Linked DNA regions of Homo sapiens: regions 2, 3 and 4 are each linked to region 1. Evidence: promoter capture Hi-C in human tissues and cell types (Jung and others, 2019). All regions are on one chromosome and are shown on one strand. Each heading gives the region's core, a stretch centred on a gene start or on the middle of the fragment in contact. The rest is flanking DNA. Distances are from core to core; before and after follow the strand shown. Region 1 holds the start of DUSP18 (dual specificity phosphatase 18). Region 2 overlaps MORC2 (MORC family CW-type zinc finger 2). Region 3 overlaps LOC105372995 (a long non-coding RNA gene). Region 4 overlaps MORC2 (MORC family CW-type zinc finger 2).

The links. Contacts are between HindIII fragments. The study calls those that stand out against the background at their distance.
Region 2: a contact is called between a fragment that was not itself captured here and the fragment with the promoter of DUSP18 in region 1, in 2 of the 25 tissues and cell types used here (dorsolateral prefrontal cortex and mesenchymal stem cells).
Region 3: a fragment that was not itself captured here is called in contact with the fragment with the promoter of DUSP18 in region 1 in 1 of the 25 tissues and cell types used here (H1 embryonic stem cells).
Region 4: a contact is called between a fragment that was not itself captured here and the fragment with the promoter of DUSP18 in region 1, in 1 of the 25 tissues and cell types used here (dorsolateral prefrontal cortex).

The regions. Positions count from the first base shown.
Region 1 is chr22:30,664,682-30,671,126 of GRCh38, reverse strand. DUSP18 (dual specificity phosphatase 18) reads left to right here and starts at 3,252. Exons shown (of 2, transcript NM_152511.5): 1 at 3,252-3,665. It also overlaps a transcript of SLC35E4 not described here. RefSeq lists an enhancer at 2,765-3,154. The HindIII fragment of the contact is 10,031 bases long and covers 1-6,445 here.
Region 2 is chr22:30,951,909-30,957,996 of GRCh38, reverse strand. It overlaps MORC2 (MORC family CW-type zinc finger 2), which reads left to right. Exons shown (of 26, transcript NM_001303256.3): 3 at 1,200-1,234. Among named protein-coding and RNA genes, the nearest start is that of MORC2, 14 kb to the left of the region's middle. The HindIII fragment of the contact is 6,988 bases long and covers 876-6,088 here.
Region 3 is chr22:31,115,336-31,120,255 of GRCh38, reverse strand. LOC105372995 (a long non-coding RNA gene) reads left to right here. Exons shown (of 3, transcript XR_938163.3): 1 at 1-373. Among named protein-coding and RNA genes, the nearest start is that of INPP5J, 5.2 kb to the left of the region's middle. The HindIII fragment of the contact is 5,360 bases long and covers 959-4,920 here.
Region 4 is chr22:30,932,853-30,936,710 of GRCh38, reverse strand. MORC2 (MORC family CW-type zinc finger 2) reads left to right here. Exons shown (of 26, transcript NM_001303256.3): 17 at 68-200; 18 at 1,389-1,463; 19 at 1,550-1,930; 20 at 2,520-2,651; 21 at 3,191-3,245; 22 at 3,681-3,822. Among named protein-coding and RNA genes, the nearest start is that of MORC2-AS1, 12 kb to the right of the region's middle. The HindIII fragment of the contact is 4,500 bases long and covers 1-3,858 here.

The sequences.
Region 1 (6,445 bases), core at 2,003-4,502:
CCAGAAGAAAAGCAATTCTGTGTTTGTAAAAGGGCCCCAGTGCAGTCCACAAGAGAAGGGTTATCAGGAACTCAGAACCATCTTCCAAAGCAGTCTTTTGTTTTTTTGAGATGGAGTTTCATTCTGTCTCCCAGGCTGGAATGCAGTGGCACAATCTCGGCTCACTGCAACCTCCACCTCCCGGGTTCAAGCGATTCTCCTGCCTCAGCCTCCCGAGCAGCTAGGATTACAGGCATGCGCCACCACACCTGGCTAATTTTTGTATTTTTAGTAGAGACGGGGTTTCACCATGTTGGCCAGGCTAGTCTCGAACTCCTGACCTCAAGAGATATGCCTGCCTTGGGCTCCCAAAGTGGTAGGATTACATGCGTGAGAGCCACCATGCCCACCCAGCCAAAAGCAGTCATCTTGATGATCCTTCTTAAGGATGAAATGGGAGAGAGGGGTCTTAGAGGGGAGGAGTAAAAGTTGTAGAGTAGGGTTCGAAGGATGAATTTGAGAGGTGTTTAGCTTGGGGAGCACTTGCTCTAGACCCTGTGCCTAAAGGGGATCTGGGAGGCGGGGGCTTGGGGGAGTATAGATCAGAGCAGGGAGAAATAAAAGTAAGAGTTTGGACAGATGTTAGGCTGGTTAATAGGGGAATTCCAGAAGAAGGTTTGGGGAAAATTTAGAATAGGGAGGTGTGGGGTGGACAGGGGTTTTAGGAGACTCTGAAAGGTGAGGTGAAACATGGGGTGGGGTGGGGTAGAATGGAGCTAGGTACTCCAGGTGAAAATATAACAATCTGGTCAAAATGAGGAAATGCTGAAGAGTGGATATACTTCTAAGCACTGCATTTTCACTTTTTGATAATTTGGTTACACCATGAAGTAGTCTTACAAATAAATACCTTTAAATGGTTTTGCCCATTTAAAAATAATTCTTCAGGATCAGGCACAGTGGCTGAGGCCTATAATCCCAGCACTTTGGGAGGCCAAGGTGGGCAGATCACTTGAGGTCAGGAGTTCGAGACCAGCCTGGCCAACATGGTGAAACCCCATCTCTACTAAAAATACAAAAATTAGCCGGGTGTAGTGGTGAGCACCTGTAATCCCAGCTAATCAGGAGGCTAAGGCAGGAGAATCACTGGAACCCAGGAGGCAGAGGTTGCAGTGAGCCAAGACTGTGCCACTGCACTCGGGCCTGGGCCACAGAGCTAGACTCTGTCTCAAAAAAAAAATTGTTCATATTTTCTTTCTAAAATGCGGAAACAAAATCTACAGTATGGAAGCAATTGAATAAATTTTGGTATGTCATAAAATAAAATACATGTAATTGTGTATGAAACATAGACGGGTGGTATATTAGATGGGAGAAAAAAGCAGGTTACTAAAAAGTGAACTTTTGTGATGTATCTTTTTTAAGTATAAGCATGTTGTAACATATATATATATATATATATATATATATATGAATGGATTCTGATCAAAATACACCAAAATGTTAACAGTGATTGTCCCTAGCCACTTATGCTGCTGGCCTGTCTTGTCTTCTTTTTATTTCTTCGAGACGGGGTCTCACTCTGTCCCCCAGGTTGGAGAGTAGTGGCACAATCTCAGCTCACTGCAACCTCCACATCCCAGGCTCAAGTGATCCTCCCACCTCAGCCTCCTGAGTAACTGGGACCACAGGTGAGCCACCAAGCCCGGCTAATTTTTTGTATTTTTGGTAGAGATGGGGTTTCACCCTGTTGCCCAGGCTGGTCTCGAACTCCTGAGCTCAGGTGATCCAACTGCCTCAGCGTTTCAAAGTGAAGTGGTGGGAATACAAGCGTGAGCCACCATGCCTGTCCTCATTTTTCTATAAGTGTACACTACTTTTATAATTGGGTCAAAAAAGACAACTGTAGAAGGATAAAAAATATTGAAGGACTAGTTTTTCTAATGCATTTTCAGCCTATTTGGAACTGGAGTGTTGTGAATGTTTTCATATTTACAAACTAGTATGAACAATCCAACTTCTCAATCTCTCATTTACATTTTTCTGACCTCTATGCATAGCCTAGGTGTGAGGTGATGGAAAAAGCTGGTTTAGAGATCAAGATGCTCAAACACAAAAGTCCCCCAAATCCTGAGAGTTTTTTGTTTTTTTAAAAAAATCCTTAAAACATTTAAAGACGCATAAAACTCTTCACCCACTCAGTGGTGCAAAAAATTTACCAATACTAGAAGGGGAGGAGGCTGGCAACGACTGGAAATATTCCCTTTCAAGTAATAAATAATGGTTATTTTGAACCAAATTGCTTTCCACCTCAAGTCCTCCATGGATGGGAGCCTGGAGGATGCAGTGATGGGGGTTATGGAATGGAAAGGAGCGTGGGTAATTGGGTTTGTGAGGATTGGGGCCAGGCAGAGGGAACTGGGGGCTTTTCCAGGACCACTGGGGAACACAGAGGCTGAGAAGGGGAGTGTGGGATGGGTTCGAGCTGGGGAGGACCTCGGCCTCGCCAGGCTCTAAGGAGAGTCACAGCTCACCACCTAGGGCGCTGGGACCACACGATGTCATGCCTGGGAGACTGAAGGGCTAGGACAGATTCTGAGAAAATGTGGACTGGAGATGGGGATTCCAGGTTCTCCCGGGAGTCCAGGCGAGGGAGTTCCGGCTTCAGGGAGTCCCAAGAGCTAGACTGGGAAGGGGCTGGTGCCCAGGACTATGAGAAATCCAGACTCCCCTGGGGTGTGAAAAAGGGCCGAGGTCCGGCTGAGGGAGAGCGAGTCTGAAAGAGTTCGGGCTCCCTTGCGGGTCCGAGAGTCTAACGAAGGCTCTGGGCACCCAGGCCGCACCTGAAGAGCACCAACGACTGCTCGGTCCGCGGCGCGGGAAGGAGATGTGCGGCTGAACCCCTACGCCGATTACTTAGCGGCGGCCCTATCGAGAGGGTGGTTCGAGCCCGAGGTGGCGCCGGTCCCGTAAATCGTGGAGGATCTCAGGTCCCCTGTGACCAAGGGCGTAGTCAGCTGTGTCATGGCGGCTTCCCTGTTCGAGAAACAGTTGGAAACTGGAGGCCGGTTGGGAGTCATGGTCGTTGGGCGCACGGAGGCCGGTTGGAAGCCATGGTCGTTGGGCGCCAGGAGGCCGGTTGAGAGCCGTGCTCGTTGGACGCGCGCAGACCTGGAGTTAGTCCCTGGGCGGAACCTGGAGCCCCGCGCGGCGCGTTGCCTGGGAGACGCATAAGGGGGCGGGGCCGGGGAGGGAGTGTCGCACATGCGCACAGAGCCCGGGCGGCTACGGAAGCGGTGAGACTGTCTCTCGGCTGCAGCCCTGGTGCGACCCGGCCCGTTGCCGTAGAGATGGGCAGGGCTGGATGGAGTGGGGTGCGGTGAGCTGAGCTGACCCTGCTTCGCCACGGGGACTGCAGTGACCCCGGCTTGCCGGCAGGGCGGGTAACAGGTTGAGCCAGGGTGGGGCTGCTCAGGGGCGTGGAGCCGAGGCCAGGATTTCTCTGAAGACCCGGCACAGGCTATTCCTTTCTGCGACGAGCCCATTGCTATGGAAACCAAAGCGTTAGGCCAGCGGGGATTGAGGCTGCGGGATCATGACGGGTCTCTCTCCCGAAGAACCTTGCCTAAGGCTTCCCCAAGCGGCTACTTCCTGAGCGAACCCGCCCACCCGCCTGAAGGAGAGAGGTAAAACCCTGGGGGTCCTGACACTAAGCAGGCGAAGAAGCCTATTCCAATGCCAGCTCCCCTAGGAAACCTACCCGGCCCACCCCTAGAAGTGATGCTTCGCTCTCGTTAACTCTTGGACTTTGTTCCATGTTTATAACTTAGTATTTCACGAACGCCCCGCGGTGTTTGTTCATTTTTCCCACACATAATGGACCATAAAGGTCGGCTTCTTTGCTTTATGACTCGTTCTGAACAAGTCCTTTTCCGCGCTGTGTCTCACTTTCCTCTTTTGTAAAATGGAAATATTAACTCTAGACGCCGGTCTGATTAGGTTGCTTTGAAGATCGAACCAGATGAGGGAAGCCAAATACTTCATAGGCTGTAAAGTGGTGAAGCTGAACTGCTACCGAGTTGCTATTTTTTTCTCCTCCTCCCTCTCAAGCTAAACGTTCTTTAGATCTTTTGTGATTTCTTCAGGTGGTCTTTGCGACTCCCTAGGCTCCGACCTGGAAGAAATCTTTTTTACACTTCCCTTTCACAGAGCCCTGCATTTTAACTTCCCTATCAGAAGCGAGAAAAATAGTTATCATTTTGAGAGGGCTTACTCTATGCCAAGCCCTGAGAAAACTCTTTACGTGGATTATCTCGTTTAATTTCACAACATCCTTTTAAGGTAGGTACTGTTATCCTATTTTCAAGCTCTGTCTGCCTGTAATTGCCTGTTTACTATCTGTTTCTCCCACTAGTCTTTGAGCTCCCTGAGAAAAGGGGCCATGCCTGTCTTGTACATTTCAGTATCTCCAACACCTAATACAGTGCCTGATAGAGATTGCTTTTTTTTTTTTTTTTTTTTTTTTTGAGATGGAGTCTCACGCTGTCTCCCAGGCTGGAGTGCAGTGGCACGATCTTGGCTCACTGCAGCCTCCGCCTCCCGGGTTCAAGCAATTCTCCCGTCTCAGCCTCCTGAGTAGCTGGGACTACAGGCCCATGCCACCACGCCTGGCTAATTTTTGTATTTTTAGTAGAGACGGGGGTTTCACCATGTTGGTCAGGCTGGTCTTGAACTCCTGACCTCAGGTGATCTGCCCGCCTCGGCCTTCCAAAGTGCTGGGATTATAGGCTTAAGCCACCGTGCCCAGCCCTGATAGATATTTCTTAACTAGCATGAAAATGACTCCTCGCATCACTACCCTCACCTGCAAGAGCATTGTCACTTCTGCAGACTTTTAGTGGCTATAATGAACAGCACATTCCTCTATTCCCGTTACCCACTGGGCACTGGTTTGGGGGGACATCAGTTCACTTCTCTATGGATTTTCTGATGACGAGGATCCAGAACATTCCTTAGCATTTAGACTTCCATCTGGGTTCAGGAGGCTTTTTCTTTGCCCTTCATATCACCTCTGTAGCAAGCCAGCCCTCTCTGTCCTTCCGGGAATGAGCCTGATGCATTTGAGTCTGGGGCATTGGCAGGTAGGATTTGCCTATACAACCTTTGGTCTTTCTCTTTAGTAGCCTCAGAACCACCCCCATCCCCACCCAGCCCCTCCCTGGAATTCTGGAGACACGCTGCCAGAGAACTCATTCTTTCCAGAAAACCTCTCAGAAGGCAGAGTCATAGCTGTTGGGAGTCATTTCTTCATTCAACAAATATTTATCAAGCACCTACTTGTGGGGACACAGCGCTTGGCACTAGTTGGTGATAGAGTGGGAGTGAAGACAGACACCATCATATCCCTAAAGGGCTCACAGTCTCTTGGGGAGACAGACATTAATCAAATAATCAGACAGATCGGAGCAAAACTACGTCTTCAGTAAGTGTTAGGAAGGAGAGAACATAGGGCTAAGAAAGCCTGGAGCAGAGTTGGTCAAACGTGAGGGAGGGGTGTGATCTAAGGAGATTTCCCTTAAAACAGTTACCTTTAAGTTGATATCTTAAGGCTCCTCAGACTTCTGCAGTCCTCTGCTGAATGGACCAGATCAGGATCTGATGGGTTCATAAGGAAAGAGACTGAGAGATCAGCAGGGGCAAAGGCCACTGGCTGGAGAGGACAGGTTGTCCCTAAGGAACTGTAAGTGGCTCGGTTCACCTGAGGCCCTTCAGAGCATGGAGAAGCCTAATAAGAGGCTGGAGAGACAGGCAGGAGCCAGGTCACAAATGGCCTTGACAGCCAAACTAAGTGGCTCCATCTTATCCTCACAGTGGATAGCCACTGAAATATATTAAGCAGGGAAACAAAACTTTGGCTCCTCATTTCTCGTGCCTGGTGAAGACTGCCACTTGGCCTTGAAAGGTGTGATCTAAATCCAAATGTCCCTATTTCAGCGGAATGTATAAAGATGTCCTGGTTTTTGCAGCTTTGTTTAAGACTGAGAAAGTGAGGGTCCGAGAGTCTAATGAATGCTCTGGGCACCCAGGCCGCACCTGAGGAGCACCGACGACTGCACGGTCTGCGGCGCGGGAAGCAGATCTGCGGCTGAACCTCTACCCCAATTACTTAGCGGCGACTGAGCCTATCGAGCAGGTGAAGGGAAGGGGTCTGCCTCTCCCTGGGGTGTGTTTCACAGCTCTGCTGCAGGCAGCATGATGCAGGTGTGGCAGGTCTTCCTAAGGCCCTGCTGTCTCTGTGCTTGTCCCTGGGGTTGCTGTGGTGCCCATTATGCTGGCTTCCAGGAAGCTTTCAGCCACTCCCTTTCCCAGGCCTTCTTCAGAGGCAAGGTGCAGGAGCATGTCTAACAATTTAGGACTTTGTATTTGACATCAGCTTCGCATGGGCATATCCTGTCTCTTTAAAGAG
Region 2 (6,088 bases), core at 3,120-5,619, 290 kb before region 1:
ATTCCTGAATGCAAACATAAAATTCAGACACATTTACTGACTAGGTTTTGATGACTAAGGAAGGAAGAGGAGGATGAAAATTGACAGCGGAAGTACTTTCAAACAGATCTCCAGTTAATGTGCTCGCTGATAATTTCCTCTTTACCTCTGTGTATACAATAAACTTATTCTAATTACTTTTGTTGTTGTTATTAGCTGGACTGCTCATGGAAGTGTGCTAGTTGTTTAACCAGAAAACTCCTGTTTTGTTTCAATCCTGGTTGACTCATCATTTTTCCATTCAATTAAAAAGTGTTGTAGGTTAATGGAACTGTGTTTGAATTTGCCACTTGTTAATTTAGTGAGACCATGATGTGCGGTGGCAGGCTGCTTTTTTTGTGTATCATATGGTAAAATAGAGATTCTTAGGAGTATGTATTCCTACTTGTGTATACATTTTGCCAGTATCTCTCATATTTGAAAATGTTTTAGATATTTGAGAATAGGTATATGTAGAGCTGTGTGGATTTTTTGCATGTAAAACCAGTGAAACGGTTTCATTTTCTTTGCAGTTGGCAGAATTGGACTAAATTACTTCTGAGCCTTTATGGAAGTCTTCATTGATAACTGAATCTGTATGATTTCAGCCAATGGTTGGAGTCTAATGGGGCAGGGGTATCCCAACTTCCTTTCAGGTTTAGGGAGGTTAAGATTATGGGCTCAGGAATCAGTCTGCTGACTGCAGTGTGTATACCACGAGAAGTGATTTTTCACAGGTTTTGTGGGAGATTATTGTCTTCCTTTTTTCTTAAAATATTGACGAGAAGAAAAAGTGGACAAGTTATTGGAACATCTTTTTATGATTGCAATCAAATGAGTGAGAAAAACATATTTGAATCATTTCTTAGGGTATAAAGGGAAATATTCTTGCTTATCCTATAGATGTTTTTACCACAAAATCAGGATTTAAAAAAAATATCCAGGCCCCATGTCATGTGATCATCTTCAATAATTTGGGGCTTCAGAAATGTTTTACAGATATATAAAGAAAATTGTGTTGTCAAGTATAAAAGTAAAAAAAATTCTAAATGTCTATAGAATTTCTGTATGGCTTCCTGAAAACAGACTCAAAATACTCTGCATTCTACTCAAATCACTATGCATTTTGATGGTTGATATTTCATATTAATTCACATGATTCTTTTCTTTTCACTTTGCAGAGATGCTGATGCCACCAGAATAGATATTTATGCAGGTAAGTCAGGCTTTAGTCCTTCTAATGTCTAGTTCATCTTAATGCATTTATTACTGTGCCTAAGAAGAATTGAGTGGGAAATAACTGGATTCGGGAGCCTGGGAAGATGGCATGATTATTCCAGGTCATAGGTAGAAAAGGGGCAGCCGTAGTCAGGTATGGTCAGCTCTGGTCAGGCATAGAAACCAAGAATATTGGTTTCAAGAAACTAACACAAGGTATCCAAATCTATGTAAATAGCTACTAGTAGAGTTATGGAAGTGATGGAGTGGAACAGTAGAGAGTGAAATGACCAAGTTATTTTACTGGTAGGCGTTAATAGGTGAACGAGGTTTGTGGTACCTGCAGCCAAGGAGAGATCTTGTTGGAGGCCACTTTGTTTTGAACTCTTGGTGAGCACTAGTCTCAACTTGGAGAATTGCTGGTATCGGTTGCGGAAAATAGCAGTAACTGGATTGGCTCTGAGGTTTGCTGAGTTGTTCTCAGAGGTGTCAGGAAGGAAGGCTGCTTGGCTTGGAATTTACACCTGTCAACATCCTATTTCGTTTTGCTTATTTGGCTCTGCTGTTTTGTAGTAAGATCTTCTCCTTTTCCTAGAGTGAGTGCAACAGTCATTGGCCTTTTAATTAATTAACTCATTAATTTTAATAGTTTGCTTTCTGCCTGGTATTTGTACTAGCACCTTTTTTAGTCATTTGAATACTAAAAATTTGAAAGCAGAATGGAGGAAGACAGCTTTTTTTTTTTTTTTTTTTTGAGATGGAGTCTTACCTTGTCACCCAGGCTGGAGTGCAGTGGCACGATCTTGCCTCACTGCAACCTCCATCTCCCAGGTTCAAGCAATTCTGCCTCAGACTCCCAAGTAGCTGGGATTACAGGCGCCCACCACCACACCCGGCTAATTTTTTGTATTTTTAGTAGCGACGGGGTTTCACCACGTCGGCCAGGCTGGTCTCAAACTCATGACCTCAGGTGATCTGCCTGCCTCGGCCTCCCAAAGTGCTGGGATTACAGGCGTGAGCCACCACACCTGGCCGGAAGACAGCTTTTAAATACAATTCGACTAGTGTGATGTGTTTTTTTCTGACAGACTTTTCTGAAATCCTCTGAAATGTGTGAGGTGATATTTTGAGTAGCATGAACTAGGTTCTGAGAAGTCTGTATGTTTACATGGGAATGAAATAACCCCTCTTCATGGACCCTTTTGATGAATGGGAACAAGCACACAACTAAGTAGTAATTCTCAGAACCACTAATGTCATATAATTATGAAGAATCTGCCCCAGATTTGATGAATTTCTCATGTCTGCTATACTTTGGAGCAAAGAAAATCCTCAGAGCAGCTAAAAGTCAGCTGTACTGCTTCAATTCTGAAAGCCTTTTGTTCAAAAGGCTCTGCCAAAGTGGTAAAAATAAGGCTTCTTTTCTCTCTAGAAGAAAGTAACAGGAAATAGGGGCACACAGGAAAAGAATGTTAGAAGATGATTACTAAATGCTCAGGCCAAGGCTGGGCGTGGTGGCTCACACCTGTAATCCCAACACTTTGGGAAGCCGAGGCAGGCGGACCACCTTAGGTCGGGTGTTTGAGACCAGCCTGACCAACATGGAGAAACCCTGTCTCTACTAAAAATACAAAATTAGCCGGGTGTGGTGGTGCATGCCTCTAATCCCAGCTACTCGGGAGGCTGAAGCAGGAGAATCGCTTAAACCCAGGAGGTGGAAGTTGCCATGAGCCAAGATCGCACCATTGCACTCCAGCCTGGGCAACAAGAGCGAAGCTCCGTCTCAAAAAAAAAAAAAAAAAAAAAAATGCTCAGGCCAGATGGAGGTGCCTTTCCAAGCCAAAGCATGTATCTTACATCTGAGTGTGCTTTCTCAGGAATGGTAACAGCTACCGCTGGAAAAATAGGGCTTATTTAATCAATGCACAGATGCTAAAGCAGAGAATGGGCCTCTTCTCCAAGTGATGTTGAAGGTACAAATCGTAATGGTCAAGTCTACTTGGAAGACGTTTTTTAAAAAAGATCATCTCTGCTGTCTCCTACTACATTTGGTGGGTAAATTTCAGCAAGGAAGTTTAGTTCCTGACACTCAGAATGAAGTTGGATTTCAATTTAAATGAAAAAGGACCCAGTGTGTCTTTATTCTGTGCTCAGTACAACTCCTGTTATGCTTTGGGAAATGTCCAGAGAGGAGGAGATGGGGGTCTTTGCTTTAAGAACTTAGTCTTTAATTGGAGAGACAATTAATGCACTATGGATAATTAGAGAACAATAACTAGATCTTGAGGGAACAGTCAAGACAGTTAAGGATTAAATGGTGTGATAGAAGCACTAAGCACCATAGCATTTTGGAAAAAGACTTGATTTACTTCAAGTACCAGGAGATTGGGATTCTTGGCTAAGGGATCTTTAACCCTACACTTTTCTACCACAGGGCCTTGTTAACACATTCAACAGGAGAAATCAGTCCGTGGAATCTTTTTTTTTCACCCAGGCTGGAATGCAGTGTGCTATCTAGGCTCACTGCAACCTCCACCTCTCGGGCTCAAGTGATCCTCCTACCTCAGCCTCCCGAGCAGCTGAGACTACAGGCACACACCACCATACCTGGTTAATTTTTGTATATATATTTTTTCACCATGTTGCCCAGGCTGGTCTCAAACTCCTGAGCTCAAGTAATCTGACTGCCTTGGCCCCCCAAAGTGCTGGGCTTACAGGCTGAGCCGATGCGCTTGGCCAGTAATAATCTTAATACTATAAAGTTCTTGTTGTTAGTTCATGGGGGAAAGTATTTTCTTATCTCCACTTCTGAAACTGATTGATAACTGGACTTGGAAATCTTTCCAAACATCAGATGTAGTTTGAAGTCACCACAAAGTCACATTTAAAGACCATTTTTAAACCTAAAAAGGGCAAAAAAGGAGCCAGCCTCTCAAAGTGTAGAGGTGTTCATTTACCCAAAGCATATTATTATTAGTTGGATTATTATTATAGACCATAATATGCCTGTCATAAGCAGACTGTTTTTGTTGACTTTCTTGACCTTCTGGGGTAGGTAGTGCCACCTCCTTGGAAGAAAGATCCTTTTCGTGATGCCAGGGCAATGATTAACACATGGAAAATTGGAGCAAATGAAACTGCAATTAATACTGCTCAAACAGATTGCAGAGTATGATGAAGAACTTGGATGTCATTTTATTGCAGCCTCTCCTGGGGACACCATTATTTTATCACCTTTGACTTTTGGATGTATAGCTCCATTTGACATCTCTTGTCTTTTCCTGCTTTCTTTCTTTATTCTTCCCAGTGGGAGTTAGATGAAGAATGTCTGGCTTGCAGAAGCCAGACTTGGCCATTCTGGGAGATGTGCAGACTTTCAGATTGGCTTTGACAGTCTTACAGAGCTGTTCCCAGGATATGAAGCACAGCTGCAAAGCAGGCAGTTCGGCTTTGCCTTCTCTTACTTTCAAGATGTGTGATGGGAGGCGGGGAACATACAACCCCCAGCTGCTTAGACTCTTCTTTATCCAGAATTCCCCTTCCTTTATCTTTGGAGGCTTCAGATATCACTCAGTTGACTGATTAAATATCAGGTGATAGGAATCTATCTCTATGGTGGAATATATGAGGAGATAGTTTTGAGCAGGGACGCCTTCGAGTTCTTGCTTGCTCTAGTTTAGTGCTTCTCAAAAGGTGGTCCATCCACAGATGTTGTCAATATCATCTTGGAACTTGTTAGAAATGCGAATGCCCCACCTCAGACGTACCCAGACTATCCAGGGGGAGCCCAGAATCTATTTTCACAAGCTCTTTGGATAATTCTTACCCATACTACATTTTGCTCTAGCCAATACTTTTCTAAGCTTCCTTCAGCTTAAACCCTCCTGTCCTTTACTTCCTAGCTTATCTGCTGCAGGCAGTAGAATCCATTAGATGTAAGCTCCATGAAGACAGTGATCGCATATGTACTGTTCACTGCTCTTGTCCTCATCATAACCAGGCACAGAAGAGCTGATCACTAAGTAGTCATTAAATAAACAAGTGATTGGCATAAGCATTTGAACAAGGTGAAGAGACCACACTGTCTGTTTACAAAGTTGAAGAAGTCAATGCTGTCTTAGTCTTTCTTGGCCCTGAGGCAGTATTGCATGTGGCCATGGACCTAGACACTACTAGCCATTTATAGGCTGTCAGTTACTATGTAGCCAGGAGGATCCCCCCAGTGTCATCTCTTACCCTTTAAACTACACGAAAAAGCTTTGAAATGAAGTCCTTGAGCCAGAAAAGGATACCAGCCCCACTGTTAAGTGATGATTGTGTGCTAAAGCAGCCTAAGAGTTCTATCCTAACACAAGAGCCTAGAAAGTAACTTCTTAGGCAGTGTCCAAAGAATGCCAGTAGTCCTTGGGGACTTTTCAGAGGTGCTTGGCTTGAATCAATTTCTAGATCCCAAAGCAGAGTCTTCATGCACATTTTGCGGCTGTAGTGTACAGCAAATGGCTCTTGGCTAGGTTTAGAATGCTGCTTTTACCATTCTCTGTACCTGACCCAGTTTGAGTCTCCTTATGACACTTGGCTTCCTCCAGATGGAAATTTTGAAGCCTTTTTGGACTTTTATTGTACTTATTCTTGATTGCCACGTCTCATTTGGATTCCCCAGACTCTGATTAGAGGCACTGCCACCAGGAGAGATTTTATCTAACCAATAGTACTTCCAGGAAGATCCTCACCCTTGTACTTTCAAGAAGCACTTGTAATTAATGTTCAGCTTCCTGAACACTGAGTGGTACTTGAAAATCTCTGTGGTTTATAGCCTTACAGAAGCTACTCTGGAGGCTGAGGCAGGAGAATC
Region 3 (4,920 bases), core at 2,389-4,888, 450 kb before region 1:
GGGAGGGGGGTGGGCGTACTGAGGCAGGGTCCAGGGCTCATCCAGCCCACTCCTGGAAACTCAGTGCTGTCCTTCAGGCTGTGTGGGTCAGGGATAGGAAGGCAGGATGCCAGTGATAGATGGAGTATCCCAGTTACTCTCCATAGTAACCCTGTGAGGTTGGTAATGAGGCCCCCATTGGACAGAGGAAGAAACCGAGGCCCAGGGATTACACAGCCAGTAGAGAGAGGACAGAGCATGGAGCTCCTGGAGAGGCAGTGGATAATTCTTCCCGACAGAGGAGCTGACTGTTGAACCCCTTCTTTGAAGGAGAGTCCGTGCTGCCAAATCGAAGAAGAGAAACGCCCTGGCTGGAAAGCAGAGAGAACAGCAGGTACAAAGCATGGATGGGGAAGGAAGGTTCTGGCTGTGAAAGGATGAGAAATTTGGACATGTACCCTCCTGCCCTTTGGTTCGGAGTAAACATGAGCAGGGAAGGGAGAGAAGTCTTTCCTGTCTTTTTCCTCCTCCTCTTCCTCGGTTCACTTTCCAGGGGCACCTGAGGATGGCAACGGTACCGAGGGTCTGTCCTCCTTCCTTTCTCTCCCTGGTCACCCTGACCCAGGCCCGCCATGAGGGAGGTCATGCTATGGCTACCATCTGCAAAGGTGTAGAGGGTGATACAGGATATTGTGGGAATGTGAAAGAAGGGGTTATCTGGGAGGGCTTCCCTGAGGAGGAAGTATACAGGGCACAAAAGAGCATTTCTTCTCCCAAGGCTTCACTCCAGGGTTTCTTGTTGGTAACAAGCTTCACATGTTATGTCCCCAGCACTTCATTCTCACCCTCTGAGGCAGATGTCATCCTCACTCCCCATTCTGCCACTCAGGAAATGGGCTGGAGGAGGAGGAGTGACTTTCCCAAGGTCACACAGCTGGGGCTGAGCTCAGGCCTCTCTCCTCCTTCTCTTCGGCTCCCCCTCCTCCTAGGCAGCCCAGCACCCGCTGTCAGCTGCTCTGAAGTGAGTGGCTATTTTTATTCTGGTGCGAGGGGATCTCAAGCAGCAGAGCCATGTAGGTTAGAGGCTCTAGGACACCCGGCCTCAGCAGTCCAGGGGAAACTTCCTGCAGCCACCAGACCCTGCTAAGCTTGCCTGGGGGCTCTCATTTCTTGCAGACTGACTTGCTCTGGGCTCCTATGCCTCCAGAAGCTTCTTTATTGGAGCTCAGAACAGAGCATAGAGCCAGATTAAGCCCTGGTCATGGTCCTGATCCTCCAACTTGAACCCGACTCTTGGTATTGACTAAGCCTCTACTCCAGCTCTTGACTGAGCTCTGACATCACCTTAGAATGAACCCTGACTCTAGTCACATACTGATCTAAGCCTGAATTAGGCTGATCCCAACTTGAGACCTTAGTTCTGGGCCCAGATCAAGCCCTTATCCTTCTCTAAGACTGAGCCTTAGTCACAGACTGAATTCTAGCCCCAGCCCAGACTAACCTTTTAGACTGACTCTGGCAGAAGAGTCAGACTAACCTTTTAACCCTGACTCTGGCAGAAGACTGAGCCCTAATCTTGGTCAAAGACTGAGTCCTGAGCCTAATCATTGACTGAACTCTGACCACAGACTGAATTCTGACCCTGGATCATGCAATTCTGGTCACACACTGAGCCCTAAACGGAAGACTGTGCCCTGAATCTGGTCACAGACTGAGCCCTGAACTTAGTCATTGACAGAGACATGACCCTGGTCACAGACTGAGCCTGGCTCCTGGTCACAGACTAAAGACTAAGCCCAATCATGGACTGAGCCCTGTATCTAGCCCTAGGCTACAGACTACTCAACTAAGGGCTGACCTAGACCCTGTCTGAGCCTGACCCCATCACAGACTAATCCCCAACCTTGGCCCCACTTGAGGAAGACTGCTGGCCTAAATTACATGCTGCCACATAAGAGGCATGGATTATGGGCAGAGATCTGTCTTGGGAGATCTTGGGCTTCTCATGCTGCTGATGCCACAGTGTTCCTTCCTGGTACTGTTATGGTCACAGTCTCCACCACTGGTTCCACTGGCTGGTTGGTCAACCCTCAGCAGCCCAAGCTGTGGCCTTTAGGGGCCACAGCATCCAGGCTAATGCAATGAGAGTGGTTTGGTGGCATCTGTCCAGCAAACAACCAGGGCCCATGGGGTACTGGGGTTTGGCTCTGTCAGCAGCAAGAACGACTCCGTGGGGCCTCTGGCTTCAGTTACTCTGAGGCCCTTGCTGGGGTAGGGGTTGGAGTAGAAGGAAATAGTGGGGTATGTCCCATTATTTTCGTAAATAAAGTTTACTGTTTGTGTTTAGGTAATCCATGCCCATTACACAAAACACAGAAGGAAAACATTTACCTATAATTTCATCCACCAAGAAATAATCGTTCTGACTTATTGGTTTGTTTCCTTATAGATATTTTTTGGTGGGGGCGGGGGTCTAGGCATATATATTTATATATACATGTTGTATATAATATGCATATATATTTATATACATGTTGTATATAATATGCATATATATTTATATACATGTATATTTACATATACGTGTTATATATTTTATATAGCTATATCTATTTTTTGAGATGGAGTCTCACTCTGTCGTCCAGGCTGGAGTGCAGTGGCATGATCTCAGCTCACTGAAACCTCCACCTCTGGTCCAAGCAATTCTCCTGCCTCAGCCTCCCGAGTAGCTGGGATTACAGACATGCACCACCATGCCCAGCTAATTTTGTATTTTTAGTAGAGACAGGGTTTTGCCTTGTTGACCAGGCTGGTCTTGAACTCCTGGACTCAAGTGATCCACATGCCTTGGCCTCCCAAGTGCTGGGATTACAGGCGTGAGCCACCAAGACTGGGCCTATACATGTTTTATAGAATTGGTTGGTTACTGTGTTGCTGCCACAATGTCCAGCAACACAGTAGGGTTAGGGTTAGGGTTAGGATCCTGTTAAGGTTGCAGCCCATCTCCTTCTTAACAGGAACTGGAATATGGTGGACCCCACCCTCAGCTTCAGGAATGGGTCCCAGTTGGTTAAGCCAGTAAGCAATTCCCATTTCCCCAGGCACATGATTAGATCACGAATGAACTAGCAAGATACAAGGAAATTTTTGCTCAGGGCTTTTGGGAAAGGAAGCTTATTTTCTCTCCTGAGGAGGCTGCCAAAAAAGATGATCTTCCTTCCATTAGATGTAAATGAAGAGGCCAATGGCTCTAGTTACTGCTGGCAGCCATCTTTACACCATGTAGAAAATTGGCCTACTGATAAACTGACATTATGGAAAGCAGAATGGAGAGACACCAGGCTTTGGTGACTTCATTAACTGGATCAAACTTCACCTGAAGCCCCACCTGCCATTGGACTTTTTTTTTCTTCTTTTTGAAATGGAGTCTCAATCTGTCGCCCAGGCTGGAGTACAGTGGCACGATCTTGGCTCACTGCAACCTCCGCCACCCAGGTTCAAGCGATTCTCCTGCCTCAGCCTCCCGAGTAGCTGGAGTTACAGGTGCCCACCGCTGCGTTTGGCTAATTTTTGTATTTTTAGTAGAGACGGGGTTTCGCCATGTTGGCCAGGCTGGTTTCAAACTCCTGACCTTAGGTGATCTGCCCGCCTCAGCCTCCCAAATTGCTGGGATTACAGGCGTCAGCCACTGTGCCTGTCCTGGACTTTTAAAATTATTTGAGCCAACAGAGTCCCTTTATTTATTTATTTATTTAGAGACTGAGTGTCGCTCTGGCACCCAGGCTGGAGTGCAGTGGCGCAATCTTGGCTCACTGAAACTTCCACCTCCCGGGCTCAAGCAATTCTCTTCCTCAGCCTCCTAAGTAGTTGGGATTACAGGTGTGCACCATCATGCCCAGCTAGTTTTTGTGTTTTTAGTAGAGAGGGGGTTTCACCATGATGGCCAGGCTGGTCTCCATCTCCTGACCTCAAGTGATCTGCCTATCTCGGCCTCCCAAAGTGCTGGGATTACAGGCATGAGCCACTGGGCCCAGCCCCTTTATTTTTATTATTTTTTGACACAGGGTCTTACTCACATTGCCCAGGCTAGAGTGCAGTGGTACGATCTTGGCTCACTGTATTATTTTTTATTTTTTATAGGAGATGGGGTCTCACTCTGTCTCCCAGGTTAGAGTGCAGTGGCATGATCATAGCTCACTGTAGTCTTGAACTCCTGGGCTCAAGCAGTCCTCCCACCTCAGCCTCTGGGGTAGCTGGGACTACAGGCACTGCCATGCCTGGCTAGATTTTAAATATCTTTTTTTAGAGATGGGTTCTCACTATGTTGTCCAGGATAGTTTGGAACTCTTGGCCTCAAGTTATCCTCCTGCCTCAGCCTCCTGAGTAGCTGGGTTTATAGACACAAGCCACCACAACCAGCTCCCTTTATTGTTTAAGCCAGTTTAAATTGGGGTTTCTATGACTTGCAGCCCACAGCATCACAACTCCCAATTGATATTACCAGATTACTGTTTTTGTTGCTTTTTTCTTGCTATTTAATACCATAACCACGAACATTCTCCATGTCATTCCATCTATGCTGCATCTTTTTTTTTTTTTTTGAGATAGAGTCTCACTCGCCCAGGCTGGAGTGCAGTGGTGCGATCTCAGCTCACTGCAACCTCTGCCTCCTGGGTTCAGGCAATTCTCTTGCCTTAGCCTCCCAAGTAGCTGAGATTACAGGCAGCCATCACCATGCCCAGCTAATTTTTATATTTTTAGTAGAGATGGGGCTTCACCATATTGGCCAGGCTGCTCTCAAACTCCTGACCTCAGGTGATCCGCCCACCTCGGCCTCCCAAAGTGCCGGGATTACAGGCGTGAGCCACCCACGCCCAGCCTGCTGCATCATTTTTAACAATTGCATGGTTTTCCATCCTATGGAGGTACACTCATTAATTT
Region 4 (3,858 bases), core at 382-2,881, 270 kb before region 1:
AGAGAAAGGTCCTTGCCGAGCTTGGCGCTCTGTTTGCCACGACCTCTGTAGTACCTTGTCTCTACAGGTGTGAGGCTTCTGAACAAAAGCAGAAGGTTCCCCTGGGAACATTCAGAAAGGACATGAAGACGCAGGAAGAGAAGCAGAAACAACTGACAGAGAAAATTCGCCAGCAGCAGGAGAAGCTGGAGGCCCTTCAGGTACGTGGGTCATGGTCAGTGGGCAAAGCCAGCCTGTGTCAGGGCTCTGCCTGTGACAGGAACCTTCAGTAGCTTTCCTGTTCCCTCAGGCTCAGTTTTACCCTCCACTCACCCGCGTTGTTTGCCAAAGCTTTCCAACCCCAACCTCCAGGTCCACGTGTACTATTTGCCAACAGTGTTATTTTAAGAATAACACCTTGCTTATTCTTAAGAAAAAATGCTTATATACTTCAAAGTGGTCCAATTCATTTAGAATGTATAAAACTCTAGAAAATAAAAATTCTGCCTTAGAGGTAACCATCATTAACCATACATCCTTCCAACTTGTCATGAACTCATGAATACCTACACATAACACACATATATTTTTTAATAGAAATAGGGAGATAATGCCATGTATATGTTTTATATTAATACATACACATACACATAATTGTTTTGATGACTTTCTAGAAGTGAAATTAAAGGACTTAAAAGGTCCATTGTAAAATTCTATGGCTTTTTGCAACTATTTCTAAAGTACCCTCCAGAGATGTGTTAATTTCTATTATTTACCAGCAGTATATGAGAGCATTATTTTTAAATGTTGTTGCAAATTTCATAGGCAAAGATGCATGTTTTATAATTTAATTTCCTTAATATTTCTAAGATTGCATAATTTTTCATGTGTCCACTTTTATTCCTTTTAAACTGCTTATTCACTTACATTTTTATTTTTTCTATGTTTTTTTCTAGATATGTCTGTGATATCATCTGTTTATCATATTTAGTACACAACCATTTCCCTTTTTGGCTTCTGTGTCTGTGCAGATGTGCTCTCACTAACCCATGATGTTTTATATGCCTCCCTAGCTGCTAAATCCCACCTTTCCTTTCTGGCTTCATCCAGGTTTTCCCTATCCTTCGGGCCCTTTCTACCTTTTTGGGTTCCTTTTATAGGAATTTAGTCTATTGACACTTTTTGCCAGTCTCTCAGTTGCTGGATTAATCACACAGTTTCCTGTAATTTGCTGATAGTTGAGTATTTATGTATTTTGTGTCTCCCCAATGAGAACAGGAGGTTTGTAAGAGTAGGACTATGGCTCAGGTTTTCTATTTTTTTTGTCCCTGGTTCCAGACACTATCCAAAAAGTTTGCTCAAGTATACTAAAATATGCAAACAACTTCATCATGATGTTTGCCTTGCAGAAAACCACACCCATCCGCTCCCAAGCAGACCTGAAGAAATTGCCCTTGGAAGTGACCACCAGACCTTCCACTGAGGTGAAGTCCAGGGGCCTGGGAAGGGCTTTTCCTCAGGTGTCTCATGCTAGGATCAGTGTTCTCACTCTCTGTGGGCCTTTTTTTAGGAACCTGTGCGTAGACCTCAGCGTCCTCGGTCGCCCCCTTTACCTGCTGTGATCAGGAACGCCCCCAGCAGACCCCCTTCTTTGCCAACTCCTAGACCAGCCAGCCAGCCCCGAAAGGCTCCTGTCATCAGCAGTACCCCAAAGCTCCCTGCTTTGGCAGCCCGGGAGGAGGCCAGCACATCTAGGCTGCTCCAGCCACCTGAGGCACCCCGAAAGCCTGCCAACACTCTCGTCAAGACTGCATCCCGACCTGCCCCTCTGGTGCAGCAACTGTCACCATCTTTACTGCCCAACTCCAAGAGCCCTCGGGAGGTTCCTTCTCCCAAAGTCATCAAGACTCCAGTGGTGAAGAAGACAGAGTCACCCATCAAACTCTCCCCGGTGAGACGCTTGTCCTCTTTAATACCCCAGCCCAGTGTCAGTAGTGTAGGAATGGAATTGTGCAGTGTCACAGCTGTACTGGGGGAGCCTTCGGAAGATACTGAATCTAAAGCTTTGCTGCTGCCCCTGAGGACGGGAAGCCTTGATAGCTGAACGGACTTGTTGGGGCCAGACAGCACATCGGTTGCCTGTACAGCGAGCTCTTCACTGTTGCCTCCGAGTTTTGGTCTGCCACAAACTTGAGTCACCTCCACTGGCTCTCGAAGTGTGGGCTTAGGTCAGTCATCTGGTGACAGATAGCCTGAGTGGGCTGCGGCAGTGGTCGGTGGTTCTTGGGGAGGTGACAGCTAGTTGGCCAGGTAGACTAAGGTGGGAAGGGAATTGAGAAGCTTCTCCTATGATAGCTTTGAGCAAAAATCCTTATGGCGCAGGGGCCAGTGGGTTGCCTGTGTACATTCCAAGTAATGTCAGGCAGGGATTGCAGGGAGTACAGCTCCTCTTGGAACGACTCCTTTAGGCTAGATGAAATCTTCCTGCTCCTTAGAGGCTGAACAGGGCCCCTCACATCCTCACGCTCCTCTTGCTCTAGGCTACCCCTAGTCGGAAGCGGAGTGTCGCAGTTTCTGATGAGGAAGAAGTTGAGGAGGAAGCTGAGAGGAGGAAGGAGAGGTGCAAGCGGGGCAGATTTGTTGTGAAGGAGGAAAAGAAGGACTCGAATGAGGTGAGTGGTTGAGGTGAGGTTCTCAAAGCCTCTCTCTCTAGGGCCTGCAGCCCCCACCAGCAGTCTGCACCCCCCATCAGCAGTCTATACCATCCACCAGCAGTCTACACAACCCACCAGCAGTCTACCCCCCCCACCAGCAGTCTGCACCAACTCTGTTTATATTCGTGTCATGAGCCTTCCAGAAGCCTAGTGATCTCTCAAGGACTCTCAGTTACACAAGTGACTAAACATGGTGCCAGGTAGGGTCTTGAGTGAGACTGGCTTCTGGCTTAACCACAGGCCTGAAGTCACACAGACGTACATCAGTGAGGCTTGAAACACATGTCCCTTGCCTGCTGTCTTGTTCGTAAAGGTAGCAGAAGGGTAGGTACCTTGGACAGTGATTTTGGAGTGTGGCTCTCAACGGGGCTTGGTGATTTAAACTGTAGCACAGGAAGTCGTGAAGATGATGGCTGATGACCCCGGGTGGCCAGTAAGGCACAAGTCTGCTCTTGGGGGGCACTGGGGATGCCTCTAATAGACTGCTCTCCACGCAGCTCTCAGACAGTGCTGGGGAAGAGGACTCGGCTGACCTCAAGAGAGCTCAGAAAGGTGAGCTGGGGGAGTGACTTGGCAGCCTGTGGCGGGGGTGGGAGTGGGAGTGGAAGTGGAGCCCCTTACCAGCAGCAATTTACCAAAGGCTCATTGAATCTGTCCTGGGTCTGGGCTCTTGTGCAGCAGTGGATCCAAGTCTAATCCCAAGCAGAATTCTGAAGGGATCACCCCTTTGTGGTTATTTTTAACACTAATTCCTTGGTGTTCACTCCTGGCGGTCACTTGTTCTCCTGCTTTTTGGCACCCTCATAGCAGATGGGGAAGGAGACCATGGTGGCTGGTCCCTGGTCTCTGTGTCCCTGGTGTAGTGGGGGCAAGCACCTAAGTGTTCCTGTCCTCCAAACCCTGGGGACTGCCTTTCTCGATGTGGCCCAGGCCAAGTGAGGGACTCTACGCTAGTTTTCTGACTCGCACCTCTGTCTACATTGTCAGATAAAGGGCTGCACGTGGAGGTGCGTGTGAACAGGGAGTGGTACACGGGCCGTGTCACAGCCGTGGAGGTGGGCAAGCATGTGGTGCGGTGGAAGGTGAAGTTTGACTACGTGCCCACAGACACGACACCAAGAGACCGCTGGTAATGCCCCAATCAGGGAGGAGCAGTGGTTCCTCG